Linked DNA regions of Homo sapiens: all the other regions are linked to region 1. Evidence: promoter capture Hi-C in human tissues and cell types (Jung and others, 2019). All regions are on one chromosome and are shown on one strand. Each heading gives the region's core, a stretch centred on a gene start or on the middle of the fragment in contact. The rest is flanking DNA. Distances are from core to core; before and after follow the strand shown.

Evidence for each region. The method cuts DNA at HindIII sites, captures the fragments that hold promoters and counts their contacts. A contact is called where the count stands out against the background at its distance.
Region 2: the fragment with the promoter of KIAA1671 here is called in contact with a fragment that was not itself captured in region 1 in 2 of the 25 tissues and cell types used here (adrenal gland and thymus).
Region 3: a contact is called between the fragment with the promoter of PIWIL3 here and a fragment that was not itself captured in region 1, in 3 of the 25 tissues and cell types used here (H1 embryonic stem cells, adrenal gland and small bowel).

Annotation. Positions count from the first base shown.
Region 1 is chr22:24,875,593-24,879,079 of GRCh38, forward strand. It overlaps SGSM1 (small G protein signaling modulator 1), which reads left to right. Exons shown (of 25, transcript NM_001098497.3): 13 at 985-1,123. Among named protein-coding and RNA genes, the nearest start is that of LHFPL7, 69 kb to the right of the region's middle. RefSeq lists a silencer at 417-617. The HindIII fragment of the contact is 3,659 bases long and covers 259-3,487 here.
Region 2 is chr22:24,950,740-24,954,094 of GRCh38, forward strand. It overlaps KIAA1671, which reads left to right and starts at 1,977. Exons shown (of 13, transcript NM_001145206.2): 1 at 1,977-2,033. RefSeq lists a silencer at 1,794-2,043. The HindIII fragment of the contact is 5,810 bases long and covers 1-3,355 here.
Region 3 is chr22:24,772,949-24,776,374 of GRCh38, forward strand. PIWIL3 (piwi like RNA-mediated gene silencing 3) reads right to left here and starts at 1,772. Exons shown (of 21, transcript NM_001255975.1): 1 at 1,374-1,772. The HindIII fragment of the contact is 9,839 bases long and covers 1-3,426 here.

The sequences.
Region 1 (3,487 bases), core at 838-3,337:
CCACGCCACTGCACTCCAGCCTGGGCAATAAAGCGAGACTCCATCTCAGAAAAAAAAAAAAAGAAAGAAAGAAAAAAGAAAAAGAAAATAAAGCTTTTGCACCTGTCTAGGACTACCAAGAGGCCAGGAAGTTGACTATAGAAATGGTAATGCATATGTCCCCAGTATGTTTGTTACGTGGTTTTGTAGACTCTGCAGTTCTTATGAAGCTGAGAAAGAAAAATAAATAAAGGAAGCTATGAGTGCTGTATCCTGAGAGTGGCTGGTCAGGAATCACCAGTGTCCAAAAGTTAGGAAATCAGAGTCCATCGAATATACCTGCTGTATCAAAATTGCTTTAGAAATACAGATTTGAGAGCTCTGTCTCTAGGATTTAGTTGAGTAGGCCAGGAGTGTGGGGCAGCCATATTGCTTTTTAACAAGCTTCCCACGTGATTTTAGGGAGTTGCTAATATGTTTGAGACCCACTTGCTGGAGCAGCTTTAGCCTCAGGACCATGGACAGCGCAGGTGCCCTCTTCCTCAGCAGGGGCTTCACTGGGTCTCTGGCACTTGGGTGCCCTGCCTCATCTATTGAGTCAGGCTCCCTTCCATCTCAGCCATGAGGCCTGTCTCTTCTCCAGAATCATCCAGCAGGCTCCCCTTCCCTCCTGCAGCATCCTGTGAGCATGACTAAGTGACAACATGGCAAGGCTTGGCCTCCTGCTCTGGGATTGGGCCTGGTTTCTTGGCTCTTGGCTCTCTGTGTCCTCTTCTTCTCTCTTTGGCTGTCATCAGCTCTGCCCCAGATTTTGGTGGTGGCTTTCATTGGATCAGGCAAACTCAAGGATGATTAGGGCTGCTGTTTCCTACTGTCATCTTCAGGGTCTTTTCCTATCTCTGTGCTGGCTGGGGCGGGTGAGCTGCTTGCTCTAGGGTGAGATTTCTGTGACCCACATAGGTTTAACCAGGGTGATTCTTCTGCCCCTCCTTCTATCCACCACAGTGCCCCAGGATCTGATGGACGTCTCTGTAAGCAACCTCCCATCCCTGTGGCAGCCCAGTCCCCGGAAGTCCTCCTGTTCATCCTGTTCACAGAGTGGCTCGGCTGATGGTAGCTCGACCAATGGCTGCAACCATGAGAGGTATGAGGGGCTTGAGCTGCAGATGGAGAGAGCTGAAGGATGTACCAGAGATCTGTAGATGCCCATGTCTTACCCTGCACTGAATTCAGAGTGAGCATAACCTGCGGACTCAGGCAGATATAGGTTAAATCCTGGCCATGAAATCCTAGCTGTTAGAGGTTACATGTAATAGTCAGGATAAACAAGGTTATGCTGCAGTAACAAACAGTCCTAAAACCTCAGTGGCTTTTTTACAACAAAAGTTTATTTATCATGCATGCTGTGTTTCTATCATGGGTCAGCTGGTGGCTGTTTTTTCCACACTAAAGGGCCTGGGTGATGGAGCAGCTACCATCTTGAATGTTGCCAGTTACAATGACAGGGAAAGGTAGCTCTGCAGAGGTTGGAACCTACGATAAAAAGGCTCTGCCCAAAAGCAGCACATGTCATATCCACTCACAGCCCATTGGCCCCATCCACAAGGGGACAGTAAGTGCAGCCCTACCATACACCTAGAAGGCAAAATAATCCCAGAAATATTATTTAACAACAACCACATCTCAGTTTGCACCCCCACACAGTGGAAATTCCAGTTCTTAACTTTATATGGCTGTGGTAAGGACCAGCTCAGGTAATGGTTTAAAGTGGCCAGAATGTGGCACCTGCACATGGTACTGTTCAGTAAATGACACTTAATGTTTTATTATATAAAGTTAAATCTCAAGCTCATCTTCTGTTTGCCCATAGATCCTTTGTCTCTTTGAAACTCTTCAGCCAATTCATGAGACTGATCTTGTTTTCCCCTGGTCCAACCTGGCCTGGCCTGAGAAAATAGAACCCTTTTGTCCTTGCGGGGCTTCTGTCCTAGTGGGTGGTCCAGTCATCAGCCATAGGATATAAGGGGTGGGGGCTGGCATCAAATTTTTGGAGTCATCCAATCCCCTGGTTCCTCAGGGTGTGGTCCGTGAACCAGCATCAGCACCTGGGCAAATTCTGAGTCTCTCATCCCAAACTTCCTGAATCAGAACCTGTATTTAACGTGGTTTCAAGACCATGTGTATACTTTAAAGTTTGAGAAGTGCTAATATTACTGGAGATTCTTTCTTTCTTTTTTTTTTTTTTTTTTTTTTTTTTGAGACTGAGTCTCTTTCTGTCGCCCAGGCTGGAGTGCAATGGCATGATCTTGGCTCACTTCAACCTCCGCCTCCCGGGTTTAAGCAATTCTCCTGCCTCAGCCTCCCGAGTAGCTGGGACTACAGGCATGTGCCACCATTCCTGGCTAGTTTTTGTGTTTTTAGTAGAGATGGGGTTTCACTATGTTGGCCAGTCTGCTCTCGAACCCCTGACCTCAAGTGATCCGCCCACCTTGGCCTCCCAAAGTGCTGGGATTACAGGCATGAGCCACCGCGCCCCGCCTGGAGATTCTCTTATCATGCATTAGAATCACCTGGGCTAGGTGGCAAAACATATCAGTTCCTGGACTATTTCCTAGAGGTCCTGACTGAGTAGGTATGTGCAGGACCCAGGAATCCACATGTTGGAGAAATTCCAAGTAACTCTTGGGCTGATGGTCCGTGGACCAGTGAGAAAGGCTGCTATAACCCATTGCCCCCTCTCCTGTTGTAGCATCTGCTTACACACTTGGAGTGATGGAGAGCTCACTACTTTGCAGAAAGCGAAGTCTACAGCGGGAAAGCTGTTGATGTGATCCTATTCTGATGTAATCTGAGCAAGTCTGAGCCTCATCAACCTGAGGGCACAAAGGGGAACTCTTTACTGTTTAATGTTCCTAACTGTCTCAATGTGCCTAAGTGGAGGACTTCAGCTATGCTCCTTCTGCCCTGCCCCAGTCTACCTGTTTTTCTGGATGTCTCCTGGGATGTCCTGAGAACAAATATGCAGATATTCTTCCATTCTATCCTCTATGAGAGTGTACAACACTCCCTTCAGCAGTCCTGGATTTCTCCAACAATGCTAGAATCTGACTCCTCTCACCTCTTTCAGCCGAAAAAGTTCCCAAAAATTCCCATGCAAGGAGAAGCTTTGAGGCATCACCTACTTAGCAATCAGCCAGACTCTGAATCCCACTTTGGCTCAGCTTGGTTCAGCTGGATCACTTTACAAATCAGAACTCTTTCTGCAAGTGATAGAAACCCACTTCAAACTGGTTCAAGTACAAAAGGAAATTTGTTGGTGTAACTGAGAAGCTTAGAGGCACAGTGGCTTCAGGCATGGCTGGATACAGATGATCGAAATAGGAATCTCTGTTTCTTCAGCTCTTGGCTCTGCTTGCTTCTATGATGGTTCCATCCTCAGACAGGTGCTTCCTATGCAGTGGCAAAGATGGCTCCCAGCAGCCACTGCCCTATATCCCACTGGCTTAGA
Region 2 (3,355 bases), core at 727-3,226, 75 kb after region 1:
GGAGCTGAGAAACATGGAACATTCCATTGAACAGAACCCCCAGCCTACGCATTCTGGTTCATGGAGATTTGCCCAGGAGAGACAGGAAGTTCCCATAAGGTTAGGGAGGAGGGGCAGCAGATGGCATGTCATCAGCTGTTGGTCATTCATGCACTCAGCATACATTCTTTGAGCACCTATTGTGTGCCAAGCCCTGTTCTAGGCACTGGGAATCGGAGGTGAAAGACAGACAGAAGTCCCTTCCTCCAGGAGGTCTAGAGAGAAGAGCAGACAATCAACGATTTTCCTTTGCTGGTATAACATACACGTCATGTAAAGGCCTGACTTACGTGGATTTTGAAGGATTTTAAGTTTCAACCCAGCCGTTCCTGGTCTCCTACTCACAGACTTCTCTCTGGAAGTGGTAGTTGTCTGTAAAAGCAACTGGGTTTGATCCTTTTGATGACTGTACTCAAGATACCCAGATGATAAGGAGAATGTCTTGAGACATGAGACCTCATGGGACCTCTGCCCCCCAATTCCTGGGTTCCAGCACTGTACACAAGTCAGTTGGGGGTTCTCGGGCTGCTGTTTGGTAAACAGGGTTTACCCTGCCTGGGTCTGATGGTGATGATCAGACCTTCAAAAGGGTTGCAGTGCAAACGGTGTGGAGAACAGGAGCTACCCTTGTTTCTTACACACACCCAACAATTTAAGAGCAAAATGAGGCAAGAAGTCTCCCCACCAATCCTCCTGAAGCCACACAATGTGATGTCTTTTTCTTTTTTTTTTTTTTGAGATGGAGTCTTGCTCTGTCGTCCAGGCTGGAGTGCAGTGGCGCGCTCTTGGCTCACTGCAATCTCCACCTCCCGGGTTCAAGCCATTCTCCTGCCTTAGCCTCCCGAGTAGCTGGGATCACAGGCATCCGCCACCACGCCCAGCTAATTTTTGTAATTTTTAGTAGTGACGAGGTTTCACCACGTTGGCCAGGCTGGTCTCAAACTCATGACCTCAGGTGATCCACCCGCCTCGGCCTCCCAAAATGCTGGGATTACAAGCCACCGTGCGCAGCCTGTGATGTCCTTTTCTTTCTCTTTTTTTATTGAGGTCTATCTTGCTTATAATAAAGGCACATTGATTTTAGGTCCTCCAGTTATTCATGCTCTGTACATTTCCCATAGGAGCACATGTCACAGATTCAATTTGATATACTCGTGAAATTATTTGTTTGAATATCTGTAAGCTGCACAACAGCCTGGATTTTGCCAGCTGCCCACCACTGGGTTCTCCAGCACCCAGCATGCAATAGGTGCTTAATAAAGATCTGCTGAATGAAATGAGTAACGGATAACAGAACAGGTATTTTCTCTTTCAGAGGCGACTTCCTACGATTCTCTCAACTTGTCCACAAGTTCCTGTACCCATTACCCCACAACTCACACCCACAACATAATGGCAGGAGGATGCGCACACAGTAGGCGCTCCAGCGAACTCTCAGGTGCAGTGCCCTTGCTTGGCGCGAGGAGGCGCCAGCACCGCGCACAGACCTTGCCCGCCCCCGGGCCGGCACCAGCAGCCCAGGCAAGTCAGTGGGCCCACATTTATGGAGCGCCTCCTGAAATCCTGGGTTGCATTAGGCTCTCGGGGTCGCCGGCTGGGCAGCGGGTCGGTGCCGGTGGCGGGGGATCCTGGCTGGTGACTGGGGAACATCCAGGGAACGCGGGAGGGTACCCGGAGCAAAGTTCCCAATTGGACAGAGCGGGGTCGGGCCTCGAGGGGCGGGAGCGCTTCCGGCAGGGGTGTCCAAGCGAGTCGTGACCTCTGACCCGCCGGAGAGGTCCCAGGCCCAGGCGCCACTGCGGACTCGGGTCCTGCCTGCTCTGCTCCCCTCCGCGCAGGCGCGGCCGGCGGCAGTTCCCATGGTGACGGGGGCGCGTCCCCGCTCGAGGCCCCGCCCCCAGCAGGCTAGGCTGCGCGGGGCTGCGGGCTCCCAGGGCAGGTGCCGCGGGCTGCGGGCAGGTGGCGGCGCGGCGCGGGCTGGCGGTGGCTCCACGGTAGGTTGCGCAGCGGCTGCGGGCAGTGGGGGCCGGCTGGCCGCCTCCTGTCCCCGGCCGACGAGGTAGCTGGGGGTGACGGCGGCTGGCGAGGGCCGCCAAGTTTCTGCCCGGCCGAGGCCCCGGGAGAAAAGTTGGCAAAGTTGGCCGGGGAAGAGGCGGGGAGCCGGAGGATTTCCCCAGACTCCGGGTCTGCAGGGAGGGAGGATCCCGGTTTGGGAGCCGGGGAATCCGTCTCCCGAGACTTGAGAGTGGATCCCGCGGGAAGATCCCGCACAGGGCAACCAATGGATCACGTGCCACCTGGTTGGCGACTTGGGAGTCGATCCCTGGAGGGGATCGGGCGCTGGAGGCCTGGGGTCCCACTGGATCCCCAGTCAGGGGTGACGGCGAAGGGTGATTCGAGACTGGGAGCGAGAGGATCAATCTCCTCCCATGCCAGCCTGAGCCTTGGGAATGGATTCAGAGAGATCCCGTGGCTAGGAGCTGAGGGATCGCTGGAGATCTGGGTTACTCAGCCTGGAGCTGCTAGGGTCTGGACATTTGTGCGGGTTGGAGGCCCCGGAGGTGGAAGTGGGAAGCAAGGGCGGCGAGCGAGACGGAACCCTGGTCGAGGGGAGCCCGGAGGACAGCGCGGTGGTTCGGGGGGCGTGAGAGGGGCGGCGCGCGGGGCCCCTCGGACGCGGAGGCTCCGGACACGTCCTCTCGGCCTGGCCTGCGCCCCCCCTCCGCTCGTCTTCCCAGGGCGGAGGCGCCCTGATGGGATTAAGCCTCAGTCCCCCTGTTACCAGGCAGGCCCGCGTGGTCCCCGCCCCGATGGCGGCGCGGCCCACCCGGGCTCACGGGTGGGGCCCTCGGGATGGGAAGCGGCTCGTTGACCCCCACCCGAGCCTGACCTTTTCACACCCTGCTGGCACAAACTCGCCTGGGAGTGGGGACGCCGCGCCTTAAAACCCTGCTGTTTGTCCAGTCCCGGAGCAGGCGTGTGACCTCCACCGCGCGACGCCTAGGTGGCTAGGGCTTCCTGCCTGCCGGGACTGAACTTTCTCTAGCCAGGAGCAGCCATTATCTTTTGGAAGGGAAAGGACTGTACCTGTTGCACAAAGAAAAACACTTTCTTTGCACCTTTTTTGTGACCTTGGGCAAAACACTTAACCTATCTGAATCCAGATGGGGACCCTCTGGGCAAAATGGGCTTGGCCTAGGATGGATCGGAATGAAGGGTATGAAACAGGTAGGGGCTCTATAAGTATCAGTGCCTCCCTCAGTCTATGGCCTCTCCTTTCCCGTGCCCCATCCCCTGTGCTTGCCTTACAGTATCT
Region 3 (3,426 bases), core at 522-3,021, 100 kb before region 1:
AGGCCTCCCTGGGTGCTGGGTCTCTGGGTCCTATGGGCTCAGGGGCCCATCTTTTTCAAGTTCTGCTCCACGTGTCTGTGTCCAGCTGAGGGCACTGACCCCACTGCCCCAGTCCCCAGGGCTTAGATGCCAGGACAGTAGAAAGCTGTGTGCCAGGGCATAACCAAGGTGTCCTCCACTGCTCTGGGCCACACATTGGCAGCTGGGCCCTGTGTCCCTCTGACACCGGATCCTAGGGTTTCTGGCTCTGCCATCTCTGCTGTGATGCTCCATTCCAACCATGTGGCTCAGCAGGGAGGGCATTACACACTGTCCCTTCCCCCTTTTCCATACTCCTGCCTTCCTGCATGCCCTGCACAGGAACCCTCTTCCCTTCTCCTTTTGCCAAAAGAATTCAGAAGATACCAACTTTCTCCTCTTTTCCTGTCTGCAGTGGAGGTCCCGGCAGGACCCCCTCCTGAGCTGTGAGGGTTAAATGGGAGAAGGTGTATTGAGCTTGAAGCACTGGCAGGTCCCACAACGAATGCTCAAAAAATGGAAGCCTCTGCCACCATCTGCATCATCCCCATCAACCACAGGAGCAAAGAGCCCGCCTTTTCTGAGAAGAGCATTTACATATTGATAGAAATTCCGCGGTTTTATTTATCATCACGTCAGTTTTAAGGATGTAAGTAGGTACACATATACATATGTATCTAAAATATATTAAGTTTTTAAAAGTAGGTTATTAAAGGATATGTACAAGACACTCTAGATTTTTTTTTTTTTTTTTTTTTTTTGAGATGGGAGTCTCACTCACTCTGTTGCCCAGGCTGGAGTACAGTGGTGCGATCTTGGCTCACTGCAACCTCCGCCTCCCAGGTTCAAGCAATCCTCCTGCCTCAGCCTCCCAAGTAGCTGGGACTACAGGCACCCGCCACTGCGCCCAGTTAATTTTGGTATTTTTCGTAGAGACGGGGTTTCACCATCTTGGCCAGGCTGGTCTTGAACTCCTGACCTCATGGTCCAGCCGCCTCAGCCTCCCAAAGTGCTGGGATTACAGGCATGAGCCACTGTGGCTGACCAAGATGCTCTAGATTTTTAAAATAAATATACATACTCCACATGCTCAAATATAAGCTGAATCTGTAACCCAGCAGCTTAGCAGCCTAACCTCAAACCGCATTTTAAAACTTTTTTTCCTTTCCCCTTTCCTCTCTTCTGCTAATCTGAAGATGTAACTTAGACAAAGTATAGACGTGTTTCCTCTCCTCTTGAAATCCAGCCTTGGAATGTGCTGTGAACCTCCACCCCCTTTCTTTTCCTGTTCTATGCCCCCATGCCTTATGCACATTTATTTACCTAGTTGTTTGGTAAGCACACACCATACTCACTTATCTGGTCACATATTTCCTTAGAAGCTTCAGTAGTCAGATCCTGATACGAACCATGCACCTCCTCCAGCCATGATGACGCCGGCCACTTCCACAGATGGAAAAATAATTCAGGACAAGCCACTGGAGGGGGTCACACCACCTGACACCTCCCAGTCCCCCTGCCTCTTTTGCCTTCCAAATCCTCCCTTTAAAAACCGCTTTGGCCGGGCGCGGTGGCTCACGCCTGTAATCCCAGCACTTTGGCAGGCTGAGGCGGGTAGATCATGAGGTCAGGAGATGGAGACCATCCTGGCTAACACAGTGAAACCCTATCTCTACTAAAAATACAAAAAATTAGCCGGGCGTGGTGGCGGGCACCTGTAGTCCCAGCTACTCGGGAGGCTGAGGCAGCAAAATGGCGTGAACCCGGGAGGCGGAGCTTGCAGTGAGCCGAGATCACGCCACTGCACTCCAGCCCGGGTGAAAGAGTGAGACTCTGTCTCAAAAAATAAACAAATAAATAAATATCTTAAAAAATAAAATAAAATAAATAAAAACCCCTGCGTTCATCCGAGCGCAGTGGCTCACGTCTGTAATCGCAGCACTTTGGGAGGTCAAGGCCGGAGGATCACGAGGTCAGGAGATGGAGACCATCCTGACTAACGCGGGGAAACCCCGTCTCTACTAAAAATACAAAAAATCAGCTGGGCATGGTGGCATGTGCCTGTAGTCCCAGCAACTCGGGAGGCTGAGGCAGGAGAATCGCTTGAACTCAGAAGGCGGAGGTTGCAGTGAGCTGAGATTGCGCCACTGCACTCCAGCCAGATTGGGCGACAGAGCAAGACACCGTCGCAAAAAACAAACAAAAAAAACCCCTGCGTTCTTTCCTCACGTGGAAGAGTGGAATTGCTCTCTGCTCTTGCCCTTGCTAGCATAGATTATAAAATTCTTTCTTTTTAAATCACATGTCATTATCATTTTGACTTCTTTCTACAAGCAGTGAGCAGCTGGGCCCTTTTGCTGGTTACAACATGAGTGACTGGGGCAAATACATCAATCAAGGTTTATCAAGCCAGATTTAGGTTGTTTCTGGGAAAAACACGAGCCAAACATGCACCTGTGGCTATTTTTCTGAAAAGGTTTTTCAGGAGATTTCCTATTTTTTTTAAGAAACTTTATTTTATTTTATTTTATTTATATCTCTATGTATTTATTGAGATGGAGTCTCGTTCTGTCGTCCAGGCTAGAGTGCAGTGATGTGATCTCTGCTCACTGCAGCCTTCGCCTCCCGGGTTCAGGCGATTCTCCTGACTCAGCCTCCTGAGTAGCTGGGATTACAGGTGCATGCCACCACACCAGGCTAATTTTTGTATTTTCAGTAGAGACGGGGTTTCATGATATTGGCCAGGCTGATCTCAAACTTCTGACCTCAAGTGATCCACCCACCTTGGGATTACAGGCGTGAGCCACCATGCCCAGTCGGGGATCAGAGTTTTTAAAAATGATTTGGTGGGTATGGGCTCAGGAAGTAGGGAGTGCTTATTGGTCGGGTTGGAGATGGAATCATGGGGGTGGAAGTGAGTTCTTGCTGATTTCTCTTCCTGGATGAGATCGCAGGACTGGTTGAGCCAGATTATCAGTCTGGGTGGTGTCATCTGCTGCATCGGAATTCAGGGTATGCAAAATATCTCAAGCACTGATCTTAAGTTTTGCAACGGAGATTTTATTCCCAGAAGCAACTTGGGGAGGTTCAGACTCTTGCGGCCAGAAGCTGCATGGCCCCTAAGCCGTAATCTCTCATCTTGTAGCTAATTTGTTAGTCCTACAAAGGCAGGACAGTTCCCCACGCAAGAAGCGTCTTTTTTTCAGGAAAGGACTATTATCAGTTTTGTTTCAGAATTTAAACTATAAACAATTCTTCCCCAAGACTAGTTTGGCCTATGCCCAGGAATGAACAAAGACAGCTTAGGCGTTAGAAGCAAGGTGTGGTCGGTTAGGTCTGATCTGTTTCACTGTCATAATTTTCTCAGTTATGAGTTTTGCAAAGGCCCTTTCAATGGGGTGACTATAG